2 separate regions of the Homo sapiens genome follow, and region 2 is linked to region 1. Evidence: promoter capture Hi-C in human tissues and cell types (Jung and others, 2019). All regions are on one chromosome and are shown on one strand. Each heading gives the region's core, a stretch centred on a gene start or on the middle of the fragment in contact. The rest is flanking DNA. Distances are from core to core; before and after follow the strand shown.

Region 1 (7,696 bases), core at 3,221-5,720:
ATTAATGAAGAATGGTGAGACAGACCTTTTCAAAGTCAGCTATGGAGACAGGTTTCGGGACCACTGCAGTAAGGTCTTGCAGTGGGGGAGTGAGATTGGACTCAATTCTAACTCCAATAAGGACAAGTGGGAATTTATAACCAAGAAGCAGGTTGGGGAGCAATGGATGGAAAATTACTAAGAGGAAACACCAAGGATAAAGGATTTCTGGCTAAACTGACCTGATAGGATTATTGCTGAAGGCAGGTCAGGGTGATAAGATATTGAGGGTGGTCTGATACCAAGGGTGGGGGATATTCATTAATGTGACGTGTCAGGATTCTTGTTCCAACTGGATTCTACAGATGGTCTCCAACTTACAATGATTTGATTTTATGATGGTGCGAAAGCCGTATGTATTCAATGGAAACACTTCCAGTTTTGAATTTTGATCTTTTCCCGGGCGAGTGATTTACAATACAAACCCGCTCCTGATGCTGGGCAGTGGCAGTGAGCCGCAGCTCTCAGTCAACCATGCGGTCACAAGGACCATGTTTAAGGTAGGCTAGGCCAAGCCATGATGTTCAATAGGTTAGCTATATTAAGTGCACTTTCCACTTGGAATATTTTCAACTTATGATGGGTTTTTTGTTTTTTTTTTTTGCATCGTAACTTCATCCTAAGTCGAGAAGCATCTGTACTAGAATAGAGAGGAAAGCCCAAGATCAGGCTTAGTCAAGCAGAGGACTCAGAGAAAAGCCTGATTAAAGTTTTGGTCAAAGGAGAGAGTGTGTGTCAGCCCTATCCAAGGTTACTGTCATTGAGAGGGGATTGTATTCGTACATGCCATAATTCTACTATAGTCCAAGGATCCTGGGACAAGAACTATGAGATAGTCATTTTTGTGACCCCATCACCGTATCACTACCACCTAACAATTAGTACTAGGCCTTGTGTATAGTGATTTACTAATTTTTGCTGAATTGAAGATGGCTTTATAGGATTTTCTCTTTAGTATGTTGTCATGTCTTCTTTATGCCTTAATTTGAAATAGTCTTAAAGCAAAATAAAAAACATTTCAATTTTGAGGGGGTCACATATAGATCAACGATATTTTTTAAATGCTATTTCTTCTTCTTATTTCTTTTCCTTTAGTAGTATTCTATTTTCTAGAAACCAGGTACTTGCTTCAGGCGACTCCTTTTCTTCTCTTAGTTGTAACTTGACATCTGAGAATAAAACTAAGAAAGGATTTTGCAGCCAATGCTGCAAATACAAATTTGTTAATTGTGTATTAACCAAATACAATTGCAAAGGGTTATTAAATACTCATTGTAAAGCTGTATTTTAAATGTCACGAATCCATGTCAGTAGCTGAAGGCATACAGTTTTATGTTAGATTTTAAAGTAAGAAAGATATTGTGTGTTTTTGTGAGCATAGATGTGGTTTGGTCTCTTCTATCCCTTTTGTGTGTGTGTGTGTGTGTGTGAGTGGCCCTGCAATCAGAAATGGTGTGAACGTGAGTATGCTGATGTGTTTGGGAAATGAGGACTACAAATTAATCTGGCCACTTTATAAGATGTTTTATATTAGACTGCAAAATTATTTCAGTTGCAAACATATTTACTGGTCACTCCCACAACCTTTTAATTCCCCTTTTCTTCCTTTTCTCCTAAGATCAGGCAATATGACCTTTTTACTTTTATTTTTCCCTAAACATTAAGATCACTAGGTAGACCGCAAAGAAGGAAGACTGTCCTGAAGCAAGAGAAAGGAAATCCTAATACTCTTATGGGAAATTTTGGAATAGCACGTGGATAAGTACAGGACATTTCTGTGGTGGCCAAACAGATGACACCTGCTTGGCATCACCTAATCTCTGATTGGTAACCCTTAGTTTACAGGTAATGCCTGCAAGTCAAAATATTTGGAATTTGTCTACAAGTACATACCATAGCACAATTTAACAACTGCAGCACAATAAAAGAGATTGTATTTACTTTTAAAAGTCATTGAAATATTTCTTAACATTTCACTTCTGAGTAGTGTCTAATGAAATAGTGATATCTTTGTCAACAAGCTGTGAATTTCCCTATGTCTTCTAGGAAGAATAGGTTCTGTCTGGTTAGTTGGTTTGTTCTTGTTTGAAATATCTTCATTTAGTAGCAGGGACATTGTGATTTAAAACTAATGGAGTTGGGAGGCCCAGGCAGGCGGATCACTTGAGGCCACAAGTTCTAGACCAGCCTGGCCAACATGGTGAAACCCCATCTCTACTAAAAATACAAAAATTAGCTGGGCATGGTGGCATGAGCCTGTAGTCCCAGCTACTCAGGAGGCTGAGGCTGGAGAATGGCTTTAACCCAGGAGGCGGAGGTTGCAGTGAGCGAAGATTGTGCCACTGCACTCCAGTCTGGGTGACAGAGCAAGACTTTGTCTCAAAAAAGAAGAAGAAGAAGAAGAAAAAAACCTAATGGAGGTGTGGGTGGAGGGTAGAAGGGAACTGGCCATGTATTGATAATTTTTGAAATATGTTTCTCTGTATTCTTTATATTTGAAATTCTCCATAAATAAATAAGTAAAAATAATAGAAGTGAAGAGAAACACTTGCTACTTTTTAGTTGAAACTAGAAATGGAAATAGGTAAAGGCACAAGTTCTGCATTCCAGTGTGCCTCCTGTGGTAGCAATAGCAAAGAAACACTGTCGCACAACAGGCTGAGTAGGAGACTGTCACAGCATCCAGTCTGCTTACCTTAGTAAGAAAAACCATACATGAGCCTTAATGTTAGGGCATCAGCAACAATTGTATTCCTCAGACAGTTAATTTAGACAGAGCCCAATTCCTACTACATCTGAAAAATAAGATCAATGTCAATTTTCATGGACTAAAATTTGTTCAAGGTTTAAAAAAAATTACACCAGCAATGCCAGGTTTTTCATATATTTTTCCTAAATGACATTCAGAAATTTTACTCATATCTCTGTGGAAATCACAGTCTGCCAACTCTTTTAAATGCCTATTTTTATTATCCTTTACATAAAACTAAGGAGTTGTCAAATATCTTTCAGAAAAACAAAATGAAAAGAATTTATATGATATATATAACAGTCATGAGGCTAAGACTTTATATAGACATTTAATTATCTAGATCACTTATTTTCCTATCTTTTGTACCATTATGTTTTTCTCTTTTAAATTATTCTTTCCCCAACATGCAACATTTTAGGTTGTTCACAATTCATTGTAATCAATTTGCCATGCCCTTTGATCTTCTCTTTTTCTCTCTTTTCTTAGCCAATTTATGAGACCAGGTTAGCCACATATGTTGAGTGTGTGGCTCTCCAAAATTATATACCACAAATGGCATAAGTTTGAGGAATTCAGATAACTGTGGCAAACTCTAACCTCAGCTGTACCCAACAAAAATGAAAAAGAAAAGGCTTTCCCTTTCTTAAGCCCCTAAAAACATTTTAATAGAAAGCAGAGTTAAAGTCATCCTGCCACTTCTTCTTTTTACCTGTGTGGGCTTTTCAAGACCTAAATTCTCTAGGTCTCATCATCTTTCTCTTTCTTTTTATTTATTTATTTATTTTTTAGAAAAGCTATTTGCCATAGGGAAATCCATTTTTCGGATTGGATATATAATAAATACATGAGAGAATAAGGTATGCCTAAATGGGACAAACCAGAATCCATGTAAATTTTGAACCTCACCTGCAATTTTGAAAGTCCTATTAATTTAAAAAATAGTAAATACCTTAATTTTCATGATAGCTTACTGTAAGGCTCCCTAGAGGCAATGAAAATGGGAATCTCAATAAAACGAATACTACCATACATCCTGGCTTCAGAGATGAAAACAGAGGGAGAGGATTGGCTAGTTATCAACAGAAGGGTAAGGAAAAAAAGCACAGAGAAAGAACAGACAAGGCAACAAAAGTGGCAGAACTGTAAGGGCCAATACGCATCCACTGCTTCAAGTTTTTCAGCCATGTTCCATTCTCCGAGATTTCTGGTAGTGCTTCAAGAATACTGGTCTCCAAACTCTTCCTGAAAAGGGCTAGGAATGCTTCTGCCTGAAGATCTTACCTATTCTTTCTGGGCCCCGTGATCTCCCTACATGATTGATCAACCTACTATTTCAACTCTTTCAAGCCTTTTCACAAATGTCAACTTCAGTGAGGCCTCTATTTAAAAATGAGCACCCTACGAAATCCTTTCCTCATTTCTGATTATCCCCTGTGAATTTACATCTGCCTACTCCGTACCCTCAGTTTATGCCCCTTGAACACTCTTGCCGGGCGCTTCTCCTTTAAATCTTGCCTGGAAGGGGCGGAGCTATGTCCCAGACTCACCGAGAGGAGCGTTCTCTAGGCTCCGCCCACTTACGTCTCAGTGGGCGCCCTAACGAACCCGGGATACGGTCTGTTCCTAGTCCGCTCCGGAAATGCAACTGCGTACGGGCTGGCCGCGTAATCGTGACGACAGCGCGCCAGCGCCGGCTAGCCGGACGCCCTAGGCTTCCGCGAGATCTTCGGTGGGGGTACGGGTGTTTTACGCCAGGACGCTGATGCGTTTGGGTTCTCGTCTGCAGACCCTCTGGACCTGGTCACGATTCCATAATGTACCACAACAGTAGTCAGAAGCGGCACTGGACCTTCTCCAGCGAGGAGCAGCTGGCAAGACTGCGGGCTGACGCCAACCGCAAATTCAGATGCAAAGCCGTGGCCAACGGGAAGGTGAGGTTTTCCCAACGGTTGCCCAGTTGCCCGGTCACTAAATTCTGAGCAGCTGCGGGAGCTCTTCTGGCTCCCAGGACAATCTCGCTCCGTCGTTTCTCTGCCTCTGCGGCGCGGAGTGCGTTTTTCTATCAAAATAAGCGAGCACCTTGCCAGGTTCCGTGGGTACAAAGACGAACAACGCCATCCCCGTCGTCGAATGGCAGACAAGTAACCAGTCTTTGTAACGTAGTGAAGAAGAGAGTAAGTAGTGTGCTAAGGTAGTGCGTGGCAAGAGCCGTTCACTTGTCAAGAGATGATGTTGGGGAAGGTTTTTCCCAGTAGCCAATGCGGAGAAAATGGGAAAGGAAGTTCCAGGCAGTCAGAACCACCGTTCAGAGTGGGAGGGAGGTCAGAAGTTACAGAGATGGTGCGTGGACGTGTTTGTGGTCGTATGTGGCCGAAGTTGAGTACCTGTGCAGGAATGGCTGGGGAGGGTAGGAAGGGAACTTGTAAGTGGAAGTGAGGCGTTTAACATTTCCACTGAAAGGATGAGGAACCTTTGAAATATTTAAAATGGGAAGCTAACCTTATCAGATTTCCGTTCTGGAAACAGCGCTCTAGCAACCTCGTGGTGAATGGGTTGGATGAGGGAGGGAGACCAGAGACCAAGTACAAACCAAGTGACTGAAGATGGTTTGGACTATGGCCCGCTAGCCAAGTTCCTTCTGTTACAGCTCTCGGACTGGTTTAATCTTTCCTGCAAGCTCCACTCCAGCAAGTGTTCAGTGCCTCCAAATTACCGATACTGAGTTACTTTACTTTCTACCTTTAATTCACATCTATTTCATATCACTGATTTTAGCACCTGAATTAGTTTCCTAAGGGCTGCCTTAAAAAAATCACCACAAACTGGGTAGCTTAAAATAACAGAAATTTATTGAAACATTTGCTGTTTTTTTACAACTTGTGACGTAATGACTGACCGAGAAACGGATGTTGGAAGCTTTCCAATCATATTTTAAAAAGTCTGTCTACTTTTTAATTTATAAATAATGATATCACAACTGTGAGCATGTGCACACAGCCTGTCATGATTGTTTATACTTTAATGAAGCAAAGGTCTAGCTGACATTCCGAAAAGTCGTGAAATGATGGTACAGTTTTAGTTTATTAAATATTTTCCTACAGCTATTTTGTGTAATGATTAGCGAATCTATAAAGAAAATGAGGCGTGATATATACCCTTCGTTGGATATATAAACTAAATTTAATCTAGATAGAGAAAAATGTTTTACAATTGTTTAATTCATTGAATTCATTGAACTTGTGTTGTAATTGTTGATCTAAAGGTTCTTCCGAATGATCCAGTCTTTCTTGAGCCTCATGAAGAAATGACACTCTGCAAATACTATGAGAAAAGGTTATTGGAATTCTGTTCGGTGTTTAAGCCAGCAATGCCAAGATCTGTTGTGGTAAGTTACAGTGGTGATGAAATATAATGTCCTTTAGTTGGCTTGTGAAATTTGACCTCTTCTAAATTCCCTGTCCACTCAAGTCTTAAAAATTCACCTTAGTTACAATTAATTAGTTTTTGGCACATTATATATTTTTCAATACAGGCCTTAAATCATGAGTTGCTGTATCATATCTTCAAAAGTATTTCAAGTCTCACTTTGTGGTCAGAAAAAAATTTGAGGTCAGGTAATGTCATAAAGAAAGAAAAAAAATAAATTACTTTCCTCTAAGTTCTCAACTAATGAGCCATAGGACTGGGACTAGAACATAGACTACTGCTTTTCCAACTCTGTGACACCCAATAAATGTTTGAAATAATGCATTCATTCATCATTGGTAATCATATGCCCCAGCTGAAACTGATACCATAAGATTTTTTTAAGCCTTGATTAGTAGAAGCTGGAGTTTTATCTTTGGTGAAAAAGATTGCCTTATTGTTTCAGATGTATGGTTCTGAGGACCTATTTGTTTTTTGCTGGGGTGGGCAACCGTGAGGAGAAACAGGTAGCTGAGATTAAAAAGCAGAAAGATAAAAAAGGTAGAGTGGGAGGGTGTTCAAAATGTTGTTACGTTATTCTCTCACTGGTTTGTTGTGAAGACCAAATATAAAAGTATATCTTAAGTAAAAGTCTGTTAAGTTTTAAAGTTATACAGCGTGACTAGCTTACGACCCAGTAGAGAATAATTTTCTAGGAAATTATCTCCATTTTTATAGTTGAAAAAAAAATTGAAGTATGTTGAAAATATTAAGTCCATAGAATTTACAATTTTTTTTCATCTGAGATGTCAAAGATTCAGAGAGAGTTTTAGGTATACTTGATTAGTTTATATCTTCAGATTTGGCTTGTTCTTACAAAAGAACTGTAAAATGAGGCAGTAAATTTAAGTGATCTTATCAAATGAAGAAAAAATCCTTTAATGAACTTCTTTATGGAATTTATTTTTAAATAACATGTTTATCATTGGTGAATAATTTTTTGTTTTACATAATGACAAAACTAAACTTTTAAAATACTTAAAAGGAAATATTCTTTTTTCTATCATAAAATAGATAAGTGGTTATTTCATTGGTTCCAGCCAAATGATATAATGGTTAAAAGTACAGGCAGGTCTTACTTGAATTCATTCCTGTTCCTTATTAGCTGTGTGACCTAGATAAGTCAGTTAACCTCATTGATACTCAGTTTCCTTCTCTGTAGAGATAGTAATACTTCACCAAGCTGTTGTAAGGATTAAAACATGATGATAGTTTCGTGTTTAGCACAGAGTCTGGCACATGGTATACATTCAATAAATGGTAGTGCTGCTTCTGCCATTCAGTTGGCAGCAGTGATCACAAATCATGGAATGGATACATGGTTATATCACAAATATGGAGTGGCTTTAGAGAGAAGGCTTATTGCCTTGCCCATGTTTTTTTGTCAGTATTTTTATAAGATTGGTTAATCTGTGAACGTTTGTATTTTTCTTCCTGAAT
Region 2 (7,696 bases), core at 3,490-5,989, 770 kb before region 1:
TTCTTGTGTGTACCTTCTCTGGGTGGGTGGAGGCTTATCCAACACGAACTGAGAAAGCTTGTGAAATAACCCATGTGCTTCTTTGAGATCTTATTCCTAGATTTGGACTGCCCTTACGGATCGGCTCAGATAATGGGCTGGCGTTTGTGGCTGACTTGGTACAGAAGACGGCAAAGGTACTGGGGATCACATGGAAACTGCATGCTGCCTACTGGCCTCAGAGTTCCGGAAAGGTGGAGCGGATGAATCAGACTATCAAAAATAGTTTAGGGAAAGTATGTCAGGAAAAAGGATTAAAATGGATACAGGCTCTCCCTATGGTATTATTTAAAATTAGATGTACCCCTTCTAAAAGAGCAGGATATTCCCCTTATAAAATACTATATCATAGGCCCCCTCCCATATTGTGGGGACTTCCAGGCACTCCCCAAGAGTTAGGTGAAATTGAGTTACAGCGACAGCTACAGGCTTTAGGAAAAATTACACAATCTCAGCCTGGGTAAATGAGAGATGCCCTGTTAGCTTATTCTCCCCAGTTCACCCTTTCTCCCCAGGTGATTGAGTGTGGATCAAGGACTGGAACGTAGCCTCTTTGTGCCCACAGTGGAAAGGACCCCAGATTGTCGTCCTGACCACTCCCACCGCTGTGAAGGTAGAGGGAATCCCAGCCTGGATCCACCACAGCCATGTAAAACCTGCAGCACCTGAAACCTAGAAGGCAAGACCAAGCCTGGACAACCCTTGCAGAGTGACCCTGAAGAAGACAAGCCCTGCTCCAGTCACACCCGGAAGCTGACTGGTCCACGCATAGCCGAAGCATGAGGAAGTTCACTGTGGAACTCATTTTTTTAAATTTTGGACTTGTACAGTAAGGACTTCAACTGACCTTCTTCAGACTGAGGTAGGGTTAAAAAAAAAAAGTTAAAATAGTCTTTTTGTTTAAAAAGGACTTGTGTGTATAATGCCACCCAGTACAAGGTATGCAGCCCAGGAAGTGACCAGACTGATGTGTGCTATAACCCATTAGAACTACTTAATCCCTGTTGGAAAACAGGAGAGTATGTAACTCTAGGAGTCAATGGAACTGGACTGGCAGGAAGACCTGGGTAGTGTAGATGAGAGTGAGAACTCCCGCTAGTGAGTGAGGTTCTCAAAGGGGGGAATGAGGAGAGAAGCCATTTCTCTTACTGTCTCCTGTCTGAAGACGAGGAGGAAGTAAAAGTTGAAAAACAAGAAGAAGGAAGTCAGTGGCAAGACCAGCCGGTGCCACTGATGACCCGGCCTGAGGTTAAAAGATTAACCACCCCCCCCAACTCTAACCACATGTGCTCTCAATCCATCAGACCCTTTCACATGGAACCCCTTAGAGCTGTAAGCCATTAAAAGGGTCAGGAGCTCTGTCTTCGGGGAGCTCAGCTCTTAAGATGCGAGTCTGCTGACGCTCCCAGCTGGATAAAAAACCTCTTCCTTCTTTAATCCAGTGTCTGAGGAGTTTTCTCTGCGGCTCGTCCTGCTACAATTCCACTTTCTTCTGCCTGCTTTATTTTATCCTTTATACTTTTTGTATCCTCAGTCCAATCAAGTTGACACTCAATATTAACCATCACAACCACATTCTGGGCCATTCAAATAAAAAATAGATTAAGAAATGTAAAAATACTGAAATTATTTGTAATGTTTTTCTGATCACCATGGAATTAAGCTAGAAATGATCAAAAAGACGACCAGGCACATTGGCTCATTCTTGTAATCGCAGCACTTTGGGAGGCTGAGACGGGTGGATCATCTGAGGTCAGGAGTTTGAAATCAGCCTGGCCAACATGGTGAAACCCTGTCCCTACTAAAAAAAAAAAAAAAATACAAAAATTAGCTGGACATGGTGGTACACACCTGTAATCCCAGATACTCAGGAGGCTGAGGCAGGAGAATCGCTTGAACCTGGGAGGCGGAGGTTGCAGTGAGCTGAGATCATGCCACTCTACTCCAGCCTGGGCAACAAGAGTGAAACCATGTCTCCAAAAAAAAAGTAAAAATACTGAAATCATTTGTAATGTTTTCTGACCACCATGGAATTAAGCTAGAAATGATAAGAAAGAGAACAAAATTTCAACTGCCTTAAGTTTAAGCATTCTATTTCTATATAGTTCATTGTTTAAAGAGCAAATAAAAAGAAACTATGAAGTATTTTGAAAGGTAAAGAACATGACATCAAATTTTGATGCTATTTAACCCATTGTAGAACAAAATTTAAAGTTTCCCATTCAAGAAGCTATAAGAGATCATCAAACCTAAGGAAAGTAGAATTAAAGGAATAATTCAGCAAAAACCAATGAAATACTACACAAATGTATAATAGAGAAAATTAAGCTAAAAACGATTGTTCCAAAAGATTAATGAAGTTGATTATATTCTTATCAAAATTGGTTCAAGGAGAAATAAAAACAGTAACCCATATCAATGCTAATTAAAAAACAGTAATCAAAATATGAGATGACTACAGACATTTAAAAAGTAAGAATACAAGCAATGAACACTTGAAAAATTAGTAATTCTTGTTACAATAGTGTCAAAAAGCAAGTTAGAAGTAGCTTTTTACCAACATGTATAAGACCTGTACACTGAACTCTACAAAATGTTAAGAGAAATTAAAGTAGACATAAGTAAATGATATGTTTCACATGAATGTATTGGAAGACTCAATGTTGTATAAATGTTATATAAATTAACACAAATGTTATATAAATTCAACACAATCCAAATAATAGTTTCACCAAATTCAAACAAAAGTTTTCTATCTGATCTTAAATTTATATGGAAATGTAAAGTACTTAGATTGTCCAAAGTATTTTGCAATGGAAAAAGTTAGAGGATTTGAAGATTTACTATAAAGTGATGTTGTGATTCTGCCATAAAGACAAACAAATGGATCAATGAAAGAGAGAGCTGAGAAATAGTCTCATACTTACACACTCATTTAATTTTTGACAAAGGTGTCAAAGCAATACAATGGGGAAAGGAGAGTCATTGCAACAACTGGTGCTAGAATAATTGGATGTCCACATTTTAAAAAAATGAACCTCAATCCCCACCTCATACTTTACACAAGAATCAATTCAAGAGCCAAATGTAAAAGCTACAACATAGTTTGGCAATTAGTGGTGGATAGAGATTTCTTAGGACACAAAGTATTAACCATAAAATTGGTTTGTTGTTGTTGTTGTTGTTGTTGTTGTTTGAGACAGAGTCTCACTTTGTTGCCCAGGCTGGAGTGCAGTGGCACAATCTCAGCTCACTGCAACCTCTGCCTCCTGGGTTCAAGCAATTCTCCTGCCTTAGCCTCCTGAGTACAGGCGTGTGGCTAATTTTTTTTTTTAGTAGAGACGTTTCACCATTTTGGCCAGGCTGGTCTCGAACTTCTGACCTCAGCTAATCCACCTGCCTTGGCCTCCCAAATTCCTGGGATTACAGGTGTGAGCCACCGCACTTGGCCCCCATAAAATGGTTTTTAATAATAAAAGATTTCATAGAAATTAAAAACTTATGCTCATCAAAAAAAGGAAATAGACATGTTAAAACTTGAAATAAAATACTTGCAAAACGAGACAAAAGACTGGAATCAGGATATATAAAGAATTAAAAAAAATAGATTAGGAAATGGGTGAGACATTTGAATAGGCACTTCACAGTTGACCATTAAGCACATGAAAAAGTGTTCAACCTCTAGCAATTCGATTATGATGATCCTTGGTATTGTTTTATGTTTCTTATTACTTGGGTTCATTCAGGTTCTTTGATCATTGGCTTTTTATTTCAGGCCACGTTAAAGGCTGACTAGTTTTTCCTCCTGAGGAAAGAGGAGAAATTTGATTGCAATGCATCGTTGGACTTTACAATTTTCTTGACATCTGTTTCTGCAAAAGAATGTGTTTAAAGGGTGTTATATTCTTAAAAGTGCCTAGGATGGCTACATAAAATGTTTAGTAAAAGCACTGCCTGTATAAATACATGTAAGACCTTTCAGTTACATACTCAGACATGTGGAGTAAACTTGATACTATTAATAGTTTTCTTTGACTCTTTATAGGTGTCGATTTTGCTTGAGAATATTGAAGGTCTTGACAGAAGTTGTGGATTTCAGTTTTAACAAATGTGTTTTAAGTGGAAGAGCATTTTCCTGGTCTTGTCCCTCCAATTTGAGAATTAGAAATGCCATGTTTATGATTATTCAGCTGTATTTGTTGCTAACTTGTAAAGCAATACAAACATTTTTTGGTCTGTTTGACTGAATTTGTCCCACAACTCATTGTTGCTCTGTTCATTTTTTTCCAGGTTTCTTTTTTCTTTCTGTGTTTCATTTTGGATAGTTTTTATTGCTATGCTATGTTTTCAATTTGTCTTTTTATTTTTGGCAGCATCCTGTCTGGTATTTAACTAATTCAGTGAAATTTTCAATCTCAGACATTTTAAAAAACCTTTAGAACTAAGTTCAAATTGAGTCTTTAAAAATACGTTTATGCTTTCCTCTACTTTCTTGAACATATAAAATATAGTTATAATAGCAGATTCAATGTTCTTGTCTACTAATTTTATCTTGTGTCTATTGAATGATTTTTCTTTTCATTGTGGGTCATGTTTTCCTGCTTCTTTGCATCACTGAAAATCGTTGACTGGATTCCAGACATTATGAGTTTTGCCTGTTGAGTACAAGGTATTTTTTTCCTTAAATAGAGTAATGTACTACATAATAACTTTTTGGTCAACAATGAACTGGGTATATAACGGTGGTCCCATAGGATTATAATGGAGTTGAAAAATTCCTATCACCTAGTGATGTCGTAGCCATCATAACATTGTAGTGCACTGCATTGCTCATGTTTGTGGTGATGCTGGCGTAAACAAACCTGCTGCACTGGCAGTCATATAAAAGCCTAGCACACAATTATACACAGCACATTATACTTAATAACAATAATAAGCTACTATGTTACTGGTTCATGTATTTGTTACACTTTTTATTATTACTTTAGAGTATAGTCCTACTTATTAGAAGAAAAAAGCAGGTCATTTAGAAGGTATTCCAGAAGAAGACATTGTTATCATGGGAGATGACAGTGCCATGCTTGTTACTGCCCCTGAAGACCTTCCAGTGGTATAAGATGTAGAGGGTAAGACAGGGATATTGAGGATTCTGATGCTGTGCAGGCCTAGGCTAATGCAGGTGTGTCTTGTTTTCTAACAAAAAGTTTAAAAAATAAAAATAAAAAGCTTTGAAAATAGTAAAAAGCATATAGAATAAGCATATAAAGGAAGTAAATATTTTTGTACAGCTCTGTGTATTTGTGTTTTAAGCTAAGCTATTACAAGAACCCAAAATTGAAAAATAAAAAGTTTATAAAGTAAAAAGTGACAGTAAGCTAAGTTTAATTAATTATTGAAGAAAGACAATATCTTTGTAAATTTAGTGTAGCCTATGTATACAGTGTCTGTAAGTCCACAGTAGTGTGCAGTAATGTCCTAGGCCTTCACTTTCCCTCATCACTCACTGATTTATCCAAAGAAACTTCCAGTCCTACAAGTTCCATTTATGGTAAGTACCCTAGACAGGTATACTATTTTTAATCTTTTATACTGTATTTTTACTATACTTTTTCTGTTTAGCTATGGTGAGATACACAAATACTTAAAATTGTGTTACAATTGCCTGCAGTATTCAGGACAGTAAGAAACTGCACAGGTTTGTAGCCTAGGAACAATAGGCTATACCATATAACATAGATGTGTAGTAGGCTGCACCATCTTGGTTTGTGTAAATCCACCCTATGATGTTTGCACAATGATTAAATTGCCTAATGACACATTTCTCAAAACCTATCTCCATCGTTAACCAGTGCATAATTGTATTCTTGAGCTTTGTGCTGGGATCCAACTAAGTCAGTAGGAAACCAAGGAGGCAGTTTTGATTCTTTTGAGGCTTGTATTTAAGGTGAGATCAGACTTTAATTTCATGCTAATTTTTACCCATACTGAGGCAATACCCTTTTGAATACTTTACCAATGCCCCACGTATTAAAAGGTTTTCCTACTTTGGCTAATGGGAACAGGAATTACACTATTCCTATCCATGTATGAATCCAGAGGATTATTCTGCCTGTCCTTTTTGGTGATTCTTTCCCCAACACTTAGAAATTTCCTCAAATGCATGCATTGGTCAGAACTTGGCTGAAGATGTGAGGGAACCTTCAACCTCTATAGATAGAGCTTCCTCACACCGCAGCCTTCCTTTCTGGTACTCTTTTCTGTCAATTGTAGTTCCCTTAGCCTTACCAGATTCTCAACTCAGGAAGACCACTGGGCTTTGTTTAGTTTTTCCCCTGTGCTGTGACTGGACAATCAAGTCAGTAAGCTGGAACAATCAAGGTTTCAAGTAGAATTTCTTTAGTTATTTAGTTTTGTAAAATAGAGGAATGAATCTGCTCCCTATTAATTTCACCTTAATTGGAAGAGGAAGTCCCCAGCTTCTGATTTTAATTTCTTCTTAGAGAATTTTTATTCCCCCAGTAATATTCCTTTCAGAGACAGGCTTCCATTCACATGCAATTTTAAAAGATGTGTAACTCAACATTATTAGTCATCAGGGATATGCTAATTAAAATCAAAATGAAATACCACTATACTAAATGTAGACAAGGATATGATGCAACTGGAACTCTGATACTTTGTGGTACAACTACTATGAAAATGACATGGCTACTTTGCAAAAAAGTTGTAATAGTTTCTTATAAAACTAAATTTATACCTATCCTGTGACCCAGCAATTTTACATTTATGTGTTTACTCAAGAGAAAAACACATCTACAAAAAGGTCAAGAATGTTCATAGCAGCTTTATTCAAAGTAGTCCCAGACTAAAAAAAGCCCAGGTGTCTATCAGTAGTAGAATATGTACACACACTGGTATAAATATACAATGGAATAATAGCAGTGAAAAAAGTACAAACTGATGATTTATGCAAAACCTGGATGAATCTTTAATATGCTGAAATAAGTCTTTTAAAACAGAGTGCATACTGTAAATTCAATTTATATAAATTTCTAGAATAAACTAATGTACGGTGGAAAATATCAGAAGAATGGTTGACTTTCAGGAAGGGTAGAGGTAGGGATTGACTGGGAAGAGGCATAAGGAAACTTTCTGGAATGAGAATGTTTTATATCTTGTAGGATTTGGGTTAAATGGGTATATGCCTCTGTCAAAATTCAATGGATGTCCACTTAAAATTTGTGCATTTCATCTAATGTAAATTTTACCCAAAAAGGAAAAAACTATGAGGAAAAAAACTAAACATATTGAACTCGAATAATATGCAAAGAATATTTAGGGGGAACTATATCTGTAATTTACTTAAAAATTCCCACCGAAATAAGATAAATTGCTAGAACTATGAGTGATGAGTTGATAGATACATTTTAAAACATAAAATATGTAGCATCCAAGTGAAGCATACATGTGTGTTCATTGTAAAATTCAACCTTCCAAGAATATTACTTGAAATATTATAATGAAATTTTGAAAAATGAAGAGTATATAGGTTGAGCATCCTAAGTTTGATAATATGAGATCTGAAATGCTCCAAAATCCAAAACTTTTTGAGTGCCCACATGATGCTCAAAGGAAGTACTAATTGGAGCATTTTGGA

Evidence for each region. Contacts are between HindIII fragments. The study calls those that stand out against the background at their distance.
Region 2: a contact is called between a fragment that was not itself captured here and the fragment with the promoter of CCNH in region 1, in 1 of the 25 tissues and cell types used here (dorsolateral prefrontal cortex).

The regions. Positions count from the first base shown.
Region 1 is chr5:87,409,704-87,417,399 of GRCh38, reverse strand. It overlaps CCNH (cyclin H), which reads left to right and starts at 4,470. Exons shown (of 9, transcript NM_001239.4): 1 at 4,470-4,722; 2 at 6,054-6,176. The coding sequence starts at 4,606. LOC105379066 (a long non-coding RNA gene) reads right to left here and starts at 4,418. Exons shown (of 3, transcript XR_948543.1): 1 at 4,339-4,418. RefSeq lists enhancers at 4,514-4,683, 4,714-4,843. The HindIII fragment of the contact is 10,921 bases long and covers 1-7,696 here.
Region 2 is chr5:88,182,442-88,190,137 of GRCh38, reverse strand. It overlaps a transcript of TMEM161B not described here. Among named protein-coding and RNA genes, the nearest start is that of TMEM161B, 83 kb to the left of the region's middle. RefSeq lists an enhancer at 1-1,037 and a silencer at 1,070-1,270. The HindIII fragment of the contact is 4,155 bases long and covers 2,662-6,816 here.